Regions from separate parts of the Homo sapiens genome. Here region 2 is linked to region 1. The links are contacts of gene promoters, found by promoter capture Hi-C in human tissues and cell types (Jung and others, 2019). All regions are on one chromosome and are shown on one strand. Each heading gives the region's core, a stretch centred on a gene start or on the middle of the fragment in contact. The rest is flanking DNA. Distances are from core to core; before and after follow the strand shown.

Region 1 (2,725 bases), core at 65-2,564:
GTGACAGGATATGAAAAGGATAGAAAAGGATATGAAAGGACAGAAAAAGAAACGAAGGTGGAAAGTGGAGAGCTGAAGGTGGAGAGGCAGAGCCAGGAGCCTTAGAGGCGCAAATGTGGAGAGGGGTGGAGGGAACCTGGCAAAAATACAGGGTCCCTGGTAGGTGCAGGGGTCATGGAGGGTCCGGCGCTGCCCCTTCGCTTCTCAGCTGCTCCCCCATCTTGCCCGCCTAGGCAGGGCGGGGAGCCCTCCGGAGCGGTGCGGAGGCAGCCAGGCCCCGCCCGCCGCAGCCGCGGCAGCCGCCGGAGGATTCCTGTCCTAATATGGAGCTGGGATTCCCCCGGCCCCGCCCCCGCCCCCGGCCCGCGGGGAGACAGAGGCTGGCAGCAGGGCGGGGGGAAGCGCTCGCTTGGGGGCCGGCAACGGGGGGAAGGGATGCCTAAGTGCAGACCCAGGTCCTCGCCGTGCCCCCACGTCCCTGCCTCAGTTTCCCCTTCAGTAAGGTTAATTAGCTGAGAGGGAAACCACGAATCACTGCAGACTACAGCGCTGATGTTGGTTTCTATTCTTGGCTGTGGGAAAACAGGATCAACGCCAAATTCAGCTGGTCCCTTTCCCACCGGACTCCCTTTCCACCCATCCTCGGGACTTAGACCCCCATGAACACCCCCTGATAAGCCGCCAAGGCCCGATTTGGGAAGCGGGGGCGGGAATTTGTTCTCTAAAAATGGCCAAGGGAATCCCAGGTTAAATAGTCCCCAGAGAGGAACCCCAGCAGTGACCTGTCCCACGGAGGCCAAGGAAAGTCCTCCTTCCCTGCATGTGAACGTGACCTTGTCTGTCAAGTAACGAGGGGGATTTGTAGACAACCCTGTTCTTCCCCATTCCCTCAACTCCTCAGAAAAATTAGTGTCAGTGCCGGCCCCTCTCTGCCCTCTGCGGACTCCTGCCGCGGGCTTCAGGCCGCCCTAAACCTGGCCCTGTCGCTTCCCTCAACTGAACGCATTCAGACGCCAGGGTCCCCACACTCCATTCAAGCTTTCCTAACGCAGCGCCTTCCTCTCCGCTCAGCTCCCGCCAGGCTTGGCCCCCTCCGCAGCCTCCTGCTCCCCCCTCGCCCGCCTCCCTCCCTCTCTCATTCTACGTCATGAGATGACGTCGGAAGCCGGGCGGGAGGAGGAGCCCCCCTCCCCAGTCAGCGGCTCCCGCTGCAGCTTGCTTAGCCCAGCCTCCCGCTCTCCCGCCCCCCCGGCTCTAAAACGAGCCCCCCACGCCTGGCAGGAGCTATATAAGGCGGCGTGAGGCAGGCGAGGGGGGCAGCGCAGCCGAGCGGAGCCCAGGAGAGCAGAGAGCGAGCCTGAGCGAGAGACGGGGAAGCACGGAGGAGGAAGCCGCCGGTGCGTCGGGACGGGAGCGCAGGTGCTCGGGCACCCGAGCTGGAGCTCCGCAGCCGCCGGTCATGTACCGCTCCACCAAGGGCGCCTCCAAGGCGCGCCGGGACCAGATCAACGCCGAGATCCGGAACCTCAAGGAGCTGCTGCCGCTGGCCGAAGCGGACAAGGTCCGGCTGTCCTACCTGCACATCATGAGCCTCGCCTGCATCTACACTCGCAAGGGCGTCTTCTTCGCTGGTGGTGAGCATGCTGGGGCTACCGCAGATCCGAGCTGCCAGGCGCCGGAGACCCTGGAGCTGAGGGAACCCGCTGGGGCTGTCGCATGTCTAGGGCAGCGTGCTGGCGAGCTGGGGAGATTCGGGACTCGGGAGATTCGGGACTTTCTACTTTTCCTCCTGAGCTCCCTCCAGACCTCACCTTAGTTCTGAATGAGAGTTAGAGAGCCTGGACGGTGTCCCTAACACCAGATTATGAGAGGATAAGAGCCAGGACAGAGCGGCCTCGGTGCCCGCCAGTGCAGAAGCGCTCCGGGAGCCGGGGAGGGAAGCCCGGGAAGTTGCAGGGATGGAGCTGCCTGAGCCTAGGGGAACATAGCTACTGTCCGCGGTGCTGAAAGGGATCTCCTGTCGCCTTCGGGGCGCTGCCCATGGTGCTGACGGCTGCGCCGGCCGTGTATGGCTCTGTCCATGGTTCTGAACCCACAGTCGGCTTCGGAGCTCTGTCCGCGGTTCTGAAATTCAGAGCCGCTTTGGAGCTCTGTCCGCGGTTCTGAAATTAAGAGCCGAGAGGAGCCGACCCCGCTTTAGAAGTCGAGGGCTTGTGGGCTATGGAGATACAGCAACAGGTTCCCTGGCCAAGAGCTGCGGGCAGCGGGTCAACAGGTGTTTGCAGAGGCAGGTCCATGAGAAATTCCTCTGGATTCTCTGAAACTCAGACCATGCCTTCCTCACTTCTTCTCTGCCTCCCAGTCTTACTCCTGACGCACTACGTCTTCTCGCCCTACAGGCACTCCTCTGGCGGGCCCCACGGGGCTTCTCTCAGCTCAAGAGCTTGAGGACATCGTAGCGGCACTACCCGGCTTTCTGCTTGTGTTCACAGCCGAGGGGAAATTGCTCTACCTGTCTGAGAGTGTGAGCGAGCATCTGGGCCACTCCATGGTGAGTGCTAAGGGTCCTTTCAGCTGAGGCTGGGCATGGAGTGGGTGCCGTGAGCCTTCCACTCCTGAGGAACTGGGAATTACTATGGAGGGAGAGGTTATACCCTACAAGATACTGTAGATCAAAGATTGGCTCCTGCTGTTCTCCCTAATGGTCATCTCTTCTTTTCCTCCC
Region 2 (2,707 bases), core at 53-2,552, 210 kb after region 1:
GTAGAGATGGGGTTTCACCGTGTTAGCCAGGATGGTCTCGATCTCCTGACCTCGTGATCTGCCCGCCTTGGCCTCCCAAAGTGCTTGGATTACAGGCGTGAGCCACTACGCCTGGCCAACATTAGCTATTTCTAAACCTATTTTGGAAATATGGGAGTTGAGGCTGTTGGTTAAGTGACTATTCTTTTTTTTTTTTTTGATGGAGTCTCGTGTCACCCAGGGAGGAGTGCAGTGGTGCGATCTTGGCTCACTGCAACCTCCTGGGTTCAAGCAATTCTGCCTCAGCCTCCTGAGTAGCTGGGACTACAGGGATGCACCACTACACCCAGCTAATTTTTCTATTTTTAGTAGAGATGGGGTTTTACCATATTGGCCAGGCTGGTCTCGAACTCCTGACCTCAAATGATCCTCCCACTCGGCCTCTCAGAGTGCTGGGATTACGGGTGTGAGCCACCATGCCTGGCCATTCTTAAGATCAAATGGCTACAAAGTTGGTGGCTCAAGGAACTGAACCAGACATTGGAACCATCTAGGGCTTTGTTTATAATCGTTATGCTATACGGCTGTTGGGAGAGTCAAATGAGGACATGTGACACGTGTATGTAGTCACTTCTCATGAAATGTTAGCCATCTCATATAAATGAGTTAGAACATTCTGGGGACACTGGGATGGCCTAGTAGAGCAGCACACAGCTGATCCAAAGATTTTGGATATAGGTGTGAGTGCAGCACATACTTCTAGTAGTGAAGGCAGTGAATATTTGTAATTAGCGATACCTAGAAGTGATTTGGCTACTGTACCACATCAATTTTGGCCACCTCCAGTCTCTGGCAATACTATTTTGTGTCCTGGGAGCAATTCTTGTGGATATGGAGAATAAAGGTTATTGATAGTGTAGGGGATTTTCAAAGACATTAAGGAAGGCTAAGAGGTTGCATTGGCTGTAGGATTGGAGGCCTAGGAAGCCTTCTGCCTGATGCCCATTGAACATCCCTGGAGAATGCTGGATTTTTAGTTTGCACCCTTAGCAGAACTGTAACTCATTTCTGGACCAGGAGCCAGAGTTATTTATTAGATGTATAAGTTATATTAAGATGTTTAAGTTACATATTTGTCCTTGAGCCTGTAAAACTCAGATTGGACTGGGCATGGTGGCTTACGCCTGTAATCCCAGCACTTTGGGAGGCTGAGGCAGGCAGATCACCTGAGGTCAGGAGTTCAAGACCAGCCTGGCCAACATGGTGAAACCCCGTCTGTACTAAAAATACAAAAAATCAGCCAGGCGTGGTGGCGTGTGCCTGTAATCCCAGCTACTCGGGAGGCTGAGGCATAAGAATCGCTTGAACCTGGGAGGCAGAGGTTGCAGTGAGCCAAGACTGAGCCACTGTACGGCTGCCTGGGCGGCAGAGTGAGACTCCGTCTCAAAAAAAGAAAAAAAAAAACTCATATAGTTTGCATTTTTATGTCTAAGTAGTTTTCACTGTCACCAGTGTTTAACCCTAAGTTTGTATCTGTCCCTCATTTCCGAGAGTCTCATCTCTTATTTCTCAGTTATATTTCTGTATACACTGCCCTTTTTATTGAAGATTGGCAGCCAGATTACATATTTATTCTTGGCTCTGAAAAAATGTCAGCTTTCTAGATGACTGGACAAGTCACTTTACCTCTGAGGAGCTTGGTAGCCTAGTCAGCAAATTAAGAATCACCAAAATAGCATCTACCGTGTTCCAGACAAGGTGCTTTTATTTACTTATTTTAATTTTTTCAGATGGTCTCTCTGGTTCCTGAGGCTGGATGGAGTGCAGTGGCATGATCTTGGCTCACTGCAGCCTCTGCCTCCTGAGCTCAGGTGATTCTCCCACCTCAGCCTCCCAAGTGGCTGGAACTACAGGTGTGCACCACCACACCCAGCTAATTTTTTTGTATTTTTAGTAGAGACAGGGTTTCTCCATGTTGCCCAGGCTGGCCTCGAACTCCACCTGCCTTGACCTCCCAAAGTGCCGGGATTGAAGGCATGAGACACTGTGCCCGACCAACAAGGTGGTTTTAAAACATCCCTTTTGCCAGGTATGGTGGCTCACGCCTGTAATTCCAGCACTTTGGGAGGCTGAGGCGGGTGGATCACCAGAGGTCTGGAGTTTGACACCAGCCTGGCCAACGTGGCAAAACCCCTCTTCTACTAAATGTACAAAATTAGCCAGGCGTGGTGGCGCATGCCTGTAATTTCAGCTACTTAGGAGGCTGAGGCAGGAGAATCCCTTGAATCCCGGAGGTGGAGGTTTTCTGTGAGCCGAGATAGTGCCATTGCACTCCAGCCTGGGCAACAAGTGCAAAACTCCTTCTCAGATAAATAAATAAATAAAACATCTCTTTTGATGTCATTCTCTGTAGTTGAGCTGGTAAGGCAGAGGATTTGGATCAGATCTCTTTAATTGGCCTTTATTTATTTATTTATTTTTTGAGACAGAGTTTTGCTCTTGTTGCCCAGGCTGGAGTGTAGTGGTGCGATCTCGGCTCACTGCAACTTACGCCTCCTGAGTTCAAGTGATTCTCCTGCCTCAGACTCCCTAGTAGCTGGGATTACAGGCATGCGCCACCACGCCCGGCTAATTTTGTATTTTTTTTTTTTTTTTTTTAGTAGAGATGAGGTTCCTCCATGTTGGTCAGGCTGGTCTCGAACTCCCGACCTCAGGTGATCTGCCCATC

Evidence for each region. The method cuts DNA at HindIII sites, captures the fragments that hold promoters and counts their contacts. A contact is called where the count stands out against the background at its distance.
Region 2: a fragment that was not itself captured here is called in contact with the fragment with the promoter of NPAS4 in region 1 in 1 of the 25 tissues and cell types used here (liver).

Annotation. Positions count from the first base shown.
Region 1 is chr11:66,419,721-66,422,445 of GRCh38, forward strand. NPAS4 (neuronal PAS domain protein 4) reads left to right here and starts at 1,315. Exons shown (of 8, transcript NM_178864.4): 1 at 1,315-1,634; 2 at 2,400-2,551. The coding sequence starts at 1,460. RefSeq lists an enhancer at 1,361-1,957 and silencers at 1,890-2,204, 1,898-2,192. The HindIII fragment of the contact is 8,655 bases long and covers 1-2,725 here.
Region 2 is chr11:66,631,469-66,634,175 of GRCh38, forward strand. The region is part of intron 1 of RBM14-RBM4 (RBM14-RBM4 readthrough); the gene reads left to right. Among named protein-coding and RNA genes, the nearest start is that of RBM4, 5.9 kb to the right of the region's middle. The HindIII fragment of the contact is 7,143 bases long and covers 1-2,707 here.